Linked DNA regions of Homo sapiens: region 1 is linked to region 2. Evidence: promoter capture Hi-C in 16 types of primary human blood cells and fetal thymus (Javierre and others, 2016). All regions are on one chromosome and are shown on one strand. The core of a region is centred on a gene start or on the middle of the fragment in contact, and the rest is flanking DNA. Distances in the headings are between cores, read along the strand shown. Region 1 overlaps STAU2 (staufen double-stranded RNA binding protein 2). Region 2 holds the start of RDH10-AS1 (RDH10 antisense RNA 1).

Region 1 (6,759 bases), core at 392-2,891, 140 kb after region 2:
TGCTATAGCAGTAAAGCTTATTTAATTTCTGCTTTGTTTCATGTAGTCTAAATTATGAAGATTATTAAAGGGCTTTATTTTAGTGAACCACATTTATATAAGCAAATCAATATTCAATAATAAATATTGCAATTCTTGGCAAAGGATTGGGAAAGGCCATGTTCATTAAAACAGGTGATATAAAAGCTGATACTCAGGTTCTAACTGAGAAAAATGTATAAACTATTAGCTATGAAGTATCCCTCGGTAATAAAGACTGAAGTAGAACCTACTTGCATCACAGGACAACTTTTCGAGTTATCAATTACACTTGTAATAGAACCTCTGCAAGTTATTTATCTCCAGGTAAAAATCATACATAATTTCAACTAGCTTATCAGTTTTTATACCAAACTTTACAGAAATTATATAAATGTTCTCCCTGATGTTACTATAATCTTTTGACCCTTTTCTTCCCCCTCAAATTTATAACAGACTAGTAATAACACACTCGAGTGTTTCTTTATCAGTATAATTACCATAACAGAATTATTTCTTAAAAAGAAGTGAATAAAACATCTCACATGCTTTGTCAAAATACAAAAGGTGTTTCTGCAAATCTCTAAATTTTGTTTTAACAAATACACAGTGAAAGCTGGTAATGATACAACTTATGTACACGTGGCAACATAATATACTGATCTCTTAATGTCTAGCACAGGACACATTGTGTTTGTAAATTTGCCAGTAAGATAAAAATCATGTCCGTTGAAGTTAACTTTCTACATGATTTATATTATTTAATGAACATTTAGCAGAGCCAGCCTGCCACATAATACTACCTTATTTCTGGGGGGAAAAAGGTAAACATTATTGCTATGCTGTAGTCACCTATAATTCCTCCAGGCAATTATCTATTACATGTCAGAGACCAGTGAAAAAAGTAATAAAGGCAAAGGCAAAGAAACTCTAAACATAATATGGCCCATGCCCAGCACACTGCCTGGCATTTAGGAGACATTCAGTGTTTGTTGAATGAATGGCCATAGAACATATGTACACAGTACAGTCTACATGTGTGTATACACTGTAGCCTGCATTGATTCCATAGGTAAATAAATACACTATACATTTAGTAGGTATGCATGTTTACTTTTTTTTTTGCTAGAAAACTTTTATCCTGATTCTGAAGTCCAAATCTAGCTCTTCCTTGGGGTGACATAAAAACTCAAGTCTCTTTCCTGCTTTCATCATTAAGTACTTCATTTGTTCATCAAGTATTTGTGTAACTGGCACTATGATAGGCATGGCGCTGACATAAAAAGAAAATCATAAAGACAAACACATAGACTAATAATTATAGTCCTTATTTTGTAAACAAGGGAATTGCTATTTGGGGAGATTAAGAAACTTGCCCAAGGCAACCCAGCAAGTGAGTATATGAACCAAGTGTCAAAGCTGTATCCATATGTTTTTCAACTACCCCATGAGACATAAACATTGAGCAGCTAAGGGAATGTGACGGTTAATTTTATGTGTTAACTTGGCTGTGCTGTGGTGCCCAGTTGCTTGGTCCAACACTAGTCTAGATGTTCCTGTGAAGACATTTTGCAGATGTGATGAACATATATAATCAGCTGATTGAATAAAGCAGATTACCCTCCATAATGTGGGTGGACCTTATCCAATCAGTTGAAGGCCTTAAGAGCAAAAACAGGATTCCCAGAGAAGAAGGAATTCTGCCTTAAGACTGTAACACAGAAATCATCCCTGAGTTCCATCCTGCTGGCCCACCTTCAACTCAAACTGCAATATTAACTCTGCCTGTTTCCAGCCCACTTACCTGCACTATAGATTTTGCACTTGCCAGCCCTCACAATCATGTGCACCAATTATTTAAAATCAATCAGTCTCTCCCCCACCTACTCTCTCAATACATCTATGTCCTGTTGTTACTCTGGAGAACCCTGACTGACACAGGGTGTCATGGCTAAATATGGAGGTTGAGAGGGCATCAAAATGTGGCTAGTAGTGCAATACTTGAAAGTGGATAGGACCCAAATGGACCCAAGATACCAAGGATAAAGCCTTGAGCACAACAGCATTTAAGGGGCCAGCAGAAGTCAAAGAGCCAAAAGGAAGAGATAAGTCAGTCATGGCAAAAGAAGGCTTCACAAAGGAGGGAGGCAATCCTGCAGAAAAGGCAAGTAGGAGGAAGTCTGAGCATAGGCCTTTGTATTTGGCAATCAGTAGGACAAGGGTGACTGTGGCCAGGTCAGTTGCAATGGTGACTGGGATGGTATCCATCCTGTATTCACTGTATTGTCTACCAGTGAATAAGAGGTGAGAAACTAGAAAAAGGTTGGCAGTTGAGGAAAGGAAGAAAACAATAGCTCAAAAAGGACAGAATGGTGGAGGTGGAAGACTGTGTTAGAATTAGGGAGACATTTGTAAGTTGAGGGAAAGGTGTCACTGGAGAAGAAGATAAAGATAGATAGAAACCAGTGAGAAAACAAGTCCCAGGAGTAAGATATCCTTGCATATGGGCTCTAGACCACGGGAGTATGGAATAACTCTAATCAGAAGTGAAATACCTCTGTCAAAGACAAGCAGTGATAGTCAAGAGATTGGCGCTCTCACGGATTGAGCTGAAGCTGGGGCTCCATGCCTTTATTTTATTTATCTTATACTTTTCCAGGGAATTAAGAGGTGAGGTCATCACTGAGAGTTCTTATTAAATAACATATATGTGTCTAGTACCATATGGGATTCAAAAAAGCACAAGACCCATTCTTTGCCAGTCTATCTGTCAAGCTATTATGGTCCAGTATACAGTCTCTCAGAAGCAATGGAGCATTGGTTCCAGGAACCCACATGGATACCCAAATCCACAGATGCTCAAGTCCTTTATACAAAATGGCATAGTATTTGCATATGATCTATGCACATCTTCTGTATACTTTAAATTACCTCTAGATTACTTATAATACCGAATACAATGCCTACCTACCACTTCGTTGGTGTGGATTCAACATACTACTTGGCACATGGCAAATTCAAGTTTTGCTTTTTGAAACTTTGTGAATTTTTTTTTTCCAATTATTTTTGATCACTGGTTATTTGAATCCACAGATGTTGAGGGCTCACTGTAGTTAAATTATCCCTAGTATTAAGTTACACAGTATTTTGTGGGAAACCTTTAACAAACTATGCTTGTTTCTGCCAGTGATTAGTAAAAAAAATATTGTTGGCCCTGTTTTTCATCATTTGTGCACTTTAAAAAAATAGAAGCTTGAAAATGTGATTTCTGCTAGTTATATTTTCGATTAGAAAATTAACCATATGATCTTAGTGGCAATAAGAATATGACCGTGATAAAATTGCACAGTATATTTTAATCTTACTCTGTTCATATGTTTAGAAGACTAAACTTGAGACTAATTATATGATCAATGTCTCCTGTTTTATTATTTTACCTCAGAATATTAAAGTGATTACACAAATAATAAGTAATGATATTTTTCCCTTAAAATATAAAGGAATTTGCACAATTTTCTCACATTCTGCTAAACAAGGAGATGAATGGTTAGAGGCTAAAATCTTTAAGTTCTCCAATGATGCATTAACTAAACCAAAGAGACAACTTTACTCATTTCAAAATGTTTTATTATAACAGCAGTCTTCGAAGGCAAACACAAAAGATTCTACTATGCTTAGATTTTAAAACATAACCAATTTAATGCATCACTAATGATGTACAATAGATGTCTTCTGCAGTACCAATTCAAATAAGAGACTGATGTAATCTGCCAGATACTTCAAAGTAACTAATTTGGTAATAAGAAAATACTTCTTTTGTGCAAACTTTCCTACTTAAAAAAAAACTGCAGAAACCCTCCCAGTTGAATATTTACTAAATAAAAGTACTGAACCCTCATTAAAATGTGATTTAATAAGAAAAAGAGAACCATGTACTTTAGGCCTTCAAAATTTATCTTGAGTAACATTAGGCTTTTAGATGGAAATACATCTCTATACAAAGAAAACAGATATTAATAGCAAATTATGATCTATTTTAGAATTGTGTATTTATATTTGACATCTTAAAATTTTAAATATCTATTACATTTGTTGCTATTATGTTATACACCCTATATACACACACTCCAGATGCCTTATCTATGAAAGTATACTAGTACATTTCACTTCTCTATAAATCTTCCCCAGTATGTGTAAGTAAAACATTTCCCAGACTCTAAACCTCTAAAGGTAAAAGCTTAGGTCAGAGTTTCCTGAGCATATTCTACTATGATGTTAATATGTTTTCCTGGGGAAAGAATCTTAGATTTCTCTTTGCCTTTGTTCTCCCTTACCCATTAGAGAATTCAAAATTTTGGCCTTAATGGGAAAAGAAAGTATAAAATTCAACAAGTATTTCCAAAAGCAAGTTCAATGCAATAATTATTCATTGGCCAAGATATTTGTCAATTGCTCTTTTGGCTCACAAATTCAACCAAAATATAAATGTAAATTAAGATGTTTTCAATTATCTATTGCTTCTTCTCCAGCAGCAGCTAATCCTGAGAAAGTACCTATTATTCCAGAGAGGAAAAAGGAAGCAGGAGTTTCCATTTCTGTTGGCCACTTGGGGGTAGGAGTGTGTGTGCAGAACTAGGACACAGGAGATACTTCTTAGGGCTCCTTCTGCTGATATTCAAAAAACCCAGAATCCAAATTACCTAATTTGTGGAAAACATTTTCTTAAAATTGGATTTTTTTTATGGCTAATAATTGGGCAGAATTAGCATCCATGAAGTTACAGTAGGATTTTCCTTTATTACATCATATTTTAGGATATATGTTCCCAATTAAATAAAAAATTATTGATTTGAACCACTTATAATGTTACCAATAGAGCATTATTATGATACCTATTCTACAGAATTGCAGAAGCACCAGAAAAAAAATTCCTCATAAGAATTTGCTAACTTCTTACTTCATATTAACTGTTGATACATGTCCTATACCAGTGCATTAGCCATAATGCTTGCAAATTTTCTTGACTTCCCCTGACCCACTAGATAGCATTCAAATTCGTCATCCTAGTGTCCAAGATGCTTCACTCTCTGACCTGTACCTCACATTCTAACCCTTGTTCCCACTAATATCCAAAGATCAACCCTATACCTCAACCAAAAGGTCTGTCAAATAAATGACCTTGTGCCTCCCCACTCAGTGTCTGGGCCCATGCTAGCTCTAGCTAGTAAAAGGCCCGAATGCCTTTTACTAAATGCGTTTTTTCTCTATTGCCTAGAGGGAGCTCTGGTTCATCCTTCAAAGGTCACCTTCTGCATAAAATTCTCTTTGTGGAAATCACTCCTGCCCCATCTCTAAAATTCCTTAAGCATTTTGCTTATATATCTCATAGGCCAGTTATGTGTTGTTGTTGTTGTTGTTTACATTACAGATTTTCTTCTAATTATAATGATTAATTTTTAGGGACAGCATCCATTTTTTATACACATTTTAAAATCCACATGGGCACATATTGTCACACTGGCTTACATGAGGCAGATATTCAATAAAGGTTTATTGAATGATTAACTTTTATGTTATCATAATTTTGTATTTGGATTTATTCTTATTTGAGCAATCATTGTAGAAACCAGTGGGAAAAACTGCTACTGCCTGCAATCTCCTTTCAAAAGCAAACAATAGAAATGATTAATCTCTTAAGTTACAAATTTGATTGGAAGTAAGAATAGAGATCAACCTCATGCATAAAATGAGACAGCAGAAGCCCATAACAAGACTGATGTCAGGAGCTAAGCAAAAGGTCTGAATGACAGGTGCCCTCATAGCTGTGGAAAAGACACGCTGCATAGCACAGTGTACATGGGAGACACCATTTGGCATAAAACATAAATGAATACATAGTACATCGAAGTGCTTTATAATGAAGTTATGCTGAATATATTTTTTTACTACCCTATTGAAGTGGTCAAATTTTAAAACCTCCAAATCAATGAGGCTTAAAGTAATAGCAGGGCTCATTTCCTTGGATGATACATGATTCTCTGTTGGGAGTTCTATCATCTACATAAACTGAGAAGCCGGGAATGGAAGAATTAATAAAATAGGGTTTCTTTTCATGGAATTGACCTAAACAGTGAATTACTATTTGAAAATTACTCATCTAAAACAAGAACTAAACACTCAAATGCCTTGATTCTTGTTTAAAATCCAACAGCACTTTTTTTTTTTTGGCACATAGGGATACTAAATGTTTGTTGATTTTGTTGAATGGATAAATGAATGACTAGCTGCTTTTTAAAATTAGAATATTAATCACTTCTTGGCCTTTTGGCTAAGACCAAGTATAAAATTAGAATATTAAATAATTAAACAAGTGATGCAACGTTAATATCTGAGCATGTACTTCAGGGGAAGAAAGTGAAAATTTGTCTCTTGGCTGAGACTGAGAAATGTTCCCCTAAATTTTATACTGTTTCTGGCTTTGTAGGACACCACCTCCAGGGAAACTCTATTTCTCTTTGACAGTCCCAGGGGCCTGACCAACCTTAGGGAGGGACTCAGTTTCTATTAGAATGAAAGCAATAGTCTGCTGCCCATCAAAGATATCTGGAGACAAAAGGACAAAGTAAAAGACATATAAAAAGAAAGAAGAGGGAAATTGCAACTGATGTCAATATTAAAATGAAAGTGGACCATTATTTGGTGACCTTAATAAAGAAAACCTTTGAATAGCACACTTTGAAA
Region 2 (6,250 bases), core at 657-3,156:
ATACTCGGCTAATTTTAAAATAATTTTCACATTTTTTTTTAATAGATACAGAGTCTTGCTATGTTCCTCAGGCTGATCTTGAACTCCTCGGCTCAAGCAATCCTCCTGCCTCAGCCTCCCAAAGTGTTGGGATTACAGACGTGAGCCACTGTGCCCAGCCTGTGTGGACTTTAGAACCTAATCTCTAATAAAGTTGGACTCCTCTGCCTGTTATGCTGTCCACTGACTATCCACTAATTCAATCTGTGGCATTCACTAACTCAGTACCGTGTGTTACAAAGTCCCTACTATGTGTCAGTAACTATTCTACACACCGAAACTAGAGAGATGGATCCAAAGAAGTACCACTCTCAAAGAGGGAACAATATCTTCAATATCTAATATTTGTATAATGTTTTACATCTACAAAGTGTTTTGTAATGCTGATCCAGTTTTATCTACCCAGCATCTCTCATTTTCTGGGATTGCACCTCTGTCTTAGCTTGAGCTACTATAAAAATACCATAGACTGGGTGGCTTAAACAACGGATGTTCATTTCCCAATTCTGGAGCTGGGAGGTCCAAGATCAAGGTACTGGCAGATTTGGTTCTTGGAAGATCCTCTTTCTGGTTTATAGATGACTTTTCACTGTGTTCTCTTATGACCTTTCATTGGTGTATGTGAGGAAATCTCTGTCTTCCTCTTCTTAAAAAGGTGCAAATCCCATTTTGAGGATACCAGCCAAGATCTCATCGAATCCTAATCACCACCAAAGGCACCAACTCCTAACACCAGCACTTTGGGATTTAGGGCTTCAATGTATCAAACTTAGGGGCCTACAAACATTCAGCCCGTAGCAACCCCGTAGCACCCATACCTTTAGGAAATACTCTTTCCCACACTGCAATCCTGTGTTCTCAGTGGGAGCCATCACAGTTTCTAAACTGTGGCTCCCCTGGTCATATTTAATTGACTGAAGTGGGGCCACAAGGCTTGAGTTGGGTCAGTCATGATAATTTTTGCCCACTGTCCAAACTGACCGGTCAATGGAAGAGTACCCAGCCCCAACCTGGCCAATCAAAGTTCTTTCCAGGATTTGTCCACCAGAAACTACAGAAAGAGACTACAGAAAGTGCTGAAGCTCTGTGATCTGTGGCGTGTGAACAGTAGCTGGCCATGTTTCCAGGGAGGAATATGGCACCAGTGCTCAGAGGGCAGCAGGAGTGTGAAGGATGGAGAGAGAGCCTCCTGCAGCAGCTGTTTCTGCCACCCTGAGGGCCTCCATACCGCTGCCTCTTCCAGGGCAATAGGAGATTACCCATAAATTCTTCCTTTTGACTGAGCTGGTTCAAAATGGTTTTCTGGGCCAGACGCAGTGGCTCACACCTGTAATCCCAGCACTTTGGGAGGCTGACGTGGGCAGATCACTTGAGTTCAGGAGTTTGAGACCAGCCTCGCCAACATGGAGAAACCCCATCTCTACTAAAAATACAAAAATTAGCCAAGGGTGAAGGTGGTGCACCTGTGGTCCCAGCTACTCAGGAGGCTGAGGCAGGAGAATCACTTGAACCAGGGAGGTGGAGGTTGCAGTGAGCCAAGATGGCACCACTGCAATCCAACCTGGGGGATAGAGTGAGACTCTGTCTCAAAAAATAAATAAATAAATAAATAAAAATAAAAGATGGTTTTCTCTGTGTCACTTACAACCAAAGTGCCTGAGATATTCTTTTTCAGACATCTTTTCATTTTCTCCTCACCTTGAGGAAGGAGCTCAGAGAGGTTAAGTGAACTGCCCAATATCCCACTGCTCCAGAAGAGAGCAGCAAGAATTCAAATGCTGCTTCACATCCTGGTTCACGCCCTCAAAAGAGGTTTCCCGCCCTGGATGCCAGCCTCTCTCACAGGTGTTTTCTGTACTCTCAGTGGTGTCTTTTTTACAGCCCAGAGCCGCACATGTCCTGTCCGTGTTCCGGTCCTGCGGTGACTCACAGTCACATCACAGTGCAGGCAGACGCTCCCCTGACAGCCCATTGGCTCTTCGTTATCTGACTCCTGCCTACCTCGCCCAGCCCCCTCCTCCTCCCTCCAGCTCATGTGTGCTCCCCATCCAACCCCCTGCGTGAGTCACATGCTGCTCCCTCGGCCAGAGCCTTTGTTTGCCTGCCTTGGAGGCCTGGCATATGCCCCAGTCCCCACCCACCCAGGAAGCCTCCACTGCCACCTACCACCCAGGCGGAGCCCCGGCCTCCTCCTTCCTCTGTGTCTTCCTGGGATCGACCTCCAACCCAGCAGCTGTCTCATTGTTTTCAAATTCCCAACCTCTGCCTTCCAGAATAAAGGCATGTGGGGACAGGGACAGGAACTTCATCTATCTCTAGCCCCCTGCACAATCCCTGCCACATAGTGGTATTCAGTTTGTTGCTCAGGGGATAAACAAGAGCACCAGAAATATGAAGGTCGATGCAAATATCGAGTATTCATATTTCTTTAATAATCCACATTGTTTGGGAGTCAACTGATGTGATGCTTTGAAGCCAGTGAAAGCTGAACGGGCAAATCTGAAATACCTTTTCAGAGATTCATCTGCACTCTATGTACCCAATTAATGCTGAGCCATTAGTCCTTTCCGAAGCTGCCAGGATCTATTAAGCCATTTAACTTATCCTTCCGCACTTCAGGATCAGTCCCAAGGGCATTTTTTCAGGCCTGGGCAGCCAAAGTATAAATGACTTAAGTGGTGAGCTTTCTCTCACTCCCCCTGGGACCCCAGTCCTCCAAAGCAGAGCTTTAATGGCGCTAAAGCACTGTGAAGCGAGGAAGCGCCTAAAGCTGCCACTAGAGTCGGCCTCAACCCTGAAGGAAATCCTGGTTTGGAGCCCTTGCTCAGGGCGGGCCTTCTGAATAACTGCAACAGGAAAGCACCCTCTGTGGGGTGATTGGAATGGTCCCAGGAAAGTCCCCAGGCCTAAGGATGCCCCTCAGGAATTCACAACAGTGCTTGAAATCCCCTCCATTTATCACTTAATAAGTATTTCTTGAGCACCTACTAGGTGCCAGGCACTTAGGGATTCTGACAGGAATCCTTATAGGTTTGTTATTTTGAGCTAACTGAGGCTTTATCCTGAGCTCAAAAGCAAATATCTCTTGGAGGATAACCCACTGAGCATTATCAAGTCATCAAATACCATCCTTCCCAGGACACCACTAAGGAAGGTGGCAGCTGTATGGGGAGGGTCTTAGGACTCATATGGATACAAGTTGCTGGGGAAAAGAAGAGGAGTGAATCCTGTGGAACACAGGCTAACTCCCTGTGTCATGAGTGGCTGCCATGGGTCAGGTCAAAGGCAACTTCCATTTCCCCACCCCTGCAGCCTCATGAAATTGCAGAGAAACAAGCAGGGTGGGCATGTCAAATACACCTCGTTTATCAGATTCGCCTATATTCCTCAACCTGGTATCCCCCCCCCGCTTTTTTTTTTAAGATGGAGTCTCGCTCTATCACCCAGGCTGGAGTGCAGTAGCGTGATCTCAACTCACTGCAACCTCTGCCTCCTGAGTTCAAGTGATTCTCCTACCTCAGCCTCCTGAGTAGCTGGGACTACAGGCGTGCACCACCACGCTCGACTAATTTTTGTATTTTTAGTACAGATGGGGTTTCACCTATTGGCCAGGCTGGTCTTGAACTCCTGACCTCAAGTGATCCACCTGCCTTGGCCTCCCAAAGTGCTGGGATTACAGGTATGAGCCACCGTGCCTGGCCCTGGTCCCATTTTTAATTCTCTTAAGAAATGCTTTAGATCTGCAAGTGGGGTGTGCAGATCTAAGCTTCCTAGGTTTGGCATATAGTTTAGCCTCTGTGAGCAAAACCTATTTAGCCAGGACCAACTCTAAGTTGCACCCATAATAATAACACAACAGCTAGTGCTCTCATTTACCAAGTACCCACTAGATGCCAGGTGCAGTAGTGGATGCTCTGTGTGATTGGTGTTTTGCAATCATGTCAAGGGCATATACTTTTAAGAACCCAACGCTTCGAGGGGATATTTGCTCAAGATCACACAATTAGTCAACAGATGAGGTAAGAGTAAACACAGTCCCCACTTGTGCAACTCCAGGACCCATATTCATGACTATTATGCTGCGGAAATCATGAACCAGATAAAGTTCACCTTTAGTCCCTTGTCTACACCCTGAAGGTGTAACATGAGGGATCCCATCTGCTATGGTTTGAATGTGCGTGCCCGCTCCAAAATTCATGCTGAAACTTAATCCCCAGCGCAACTGTATCGGAAGGTAGGGCCTTCTGGTGGTGGGGTTGAGTGCTCTGCCCTCATGAATGGCATTAATGCCTTATAAAGAGGCTTCACACTGCGTCTGCTCCTTTTTGGCCTTTAACCTTCCTCCACGTAAGGACACAGTGAACAAGGTGCCATCTTGGAAACAAACAGCAGCCTTCACCAGACACCAGACCTTCTGGCACCTTGACCTTGCGCTTTCCAGCCTCCAGAACCGTGAGAAATCAATGTTTATTGTTTATAAATTACCCAATCTGTGGTATTTTTTTAAAACAGCATAATGGGACTAAGACACCATCAGAACTTGGGACCAAAAGAATACTTTTGCCCTCTGAGAGCTGATTCTTAACACAGAATAAAAATGAAGAATTACTTTAAAGAGATGGACTACCTCAAGGGTAACTTGATTAAAGGTCTGGAGGGAGGAGGAGGGTTCAGTGGTCGGTCACAGTCTCCCACAACAGATAAAATTAGGGACACACTACTATCATTTCAAAATGTGATTAATGTAAAAAATTTAAATAAGATATTTTATATTCTTTAAAATCAGGACTACATTTTTAACCACATCCTCTTACTACCAAAAAGAAAGTCCTGCGCCATCACTAGGGCAGTTTTCTCTCTGGTGGGGAGAGATGTACTGGGAATTATCACAGCCCGGTGATTCCAGCCGCTGCTACTTTCTAAGTTCTTCTCCCACCCAGTGTTGGTTCTCCACAACATGCTGTTCATGGATATCTGATCCTTGGCAGTTACAGCTCACAGTAAATTAGCAAACAGAAATTGGGATTATTCATCCACTCTCGTGAATTTCAGGCCTAGTCACCTCCAGGTACACCATGAATATGCCAGGCCCTGGGACCCAGTGCCCACCCGTGAGGCCCATCCAGGCACTGAGCTGGCCTGCCCAGGCAGACCTGTAAGTGCGTCTCAGGCCTTTAGATGGTCATGGGCCCTGCCAACCCTCTCCCTCCTCGGGAATCCTGTGTTTTTGAACTGGCCCTGGTTGGCCTGCACATCTCATGGGAAACAGGTATGACCTGCTACTGCAGGGCCAGAGTGGGGCACTGGTCTTTTCAGCCTGCCTCCCCAGTCCCTTTGGACTCTGCCTTCTAAGGGCTCATGACTCTTTGCCGGACAAACCAATCATGCTTTTACCTTTGCCAGGTGTTAAAAATAAAAAATAGCTTTGGCGGCATCGAAATTCATTATAACTTATTATATAAAATACATACTTTTATTATTAAATATAGCATTATATAGTATAAATATAGATATGTATTAAATATTTATAATTAAATTTTAGAATTTTTCAATGTGTAAAAAGTAGAAAGAAAAATATAATGAACTCCCATAGCCTCATCACCTTGTTTCAATATTAATCAACATCTAGTCAGCCTGGTTTTACCCAACCACCACACCTTCCTACTCTGAACATTTTAAAGCAAATCCCAGAGGACACATGATTCCACCCACAAATACTTGGCTATGCACTCCTAACAGATAAGCACATCTTTAAAAACATAGCCGTAATACTGTTATTACCTCTAACAAAATAAACAATAAGCCTTTAAGATGATCTAATACCCAGTCTCAATGTTCAAATTTCCCAGATTGTTTCAAAAGTATCTTTTTATAAATAGTCGTTCTGGAAGCAAACAAGATTCAAATACTGCATTTGGTTGTTATATCTATTTTATTCTGAGACCACCCCTCTTCCCAATTTGTTCTAATACCATTTATTTGTTGTAGGAAGTAAATTGCCCCACATTCTGGATTTATTTCCTTTTGGTGTTAACTAGTTCCATTACCACCAGTATTTTCTATAAACTGTGAAGTTATATTTAGAGCAGTGCTGTCCAGTGGAAATATAATTTGAACCACATATTTAATTTTAAACTTTCTCTTTTAAAACTTAAAAAAATAGGTGAAATTATTTTAATAACTTATTTAATGTAAAATAGCCAAAATATTA

Evidence for each region. The method cuts DNA at HindIII sites, captures the fragments that hold promoters and counts their contacts. A CHiCAGO score of 5 or more calls a contact.
Region 1: a contact is called between a fragment that was not itself captured here and the fragment with the promoter of RDH10-AS1 in region 2, in 1 of 17 cell types (endothelial precursors). The highest score is 5.2, in endothelial precursors.

The regions. Positions count from the first base shown.
Region 1 is chr8:73,497,331-73,504,089 of GRCh38, forward strand. All of the region lies in intron 13 of STAU2 (staufen double-stranded RNA binding protein 2), which reads right to left. Among named protein-coding and RNA genes, the nearest start is that of STAU2-AS1, 81 kb to the left of the region's middle. The HindIII fragment of the contact is 3,254 bases long and covers 15-3,268 here.
Region 2 is chr8:73,354,555-73,360,804 of GRCh38, forward strand. RDH10-AS1 (RDH10 antisense RNA 1) reads right to left here and starts at 1,907. Exons shown (of 6, transcript NR_125388.1): 1 at 1,738-1,907. The HindIII fragment of the contact is 9,950 bases long and covers 1-3,803 here.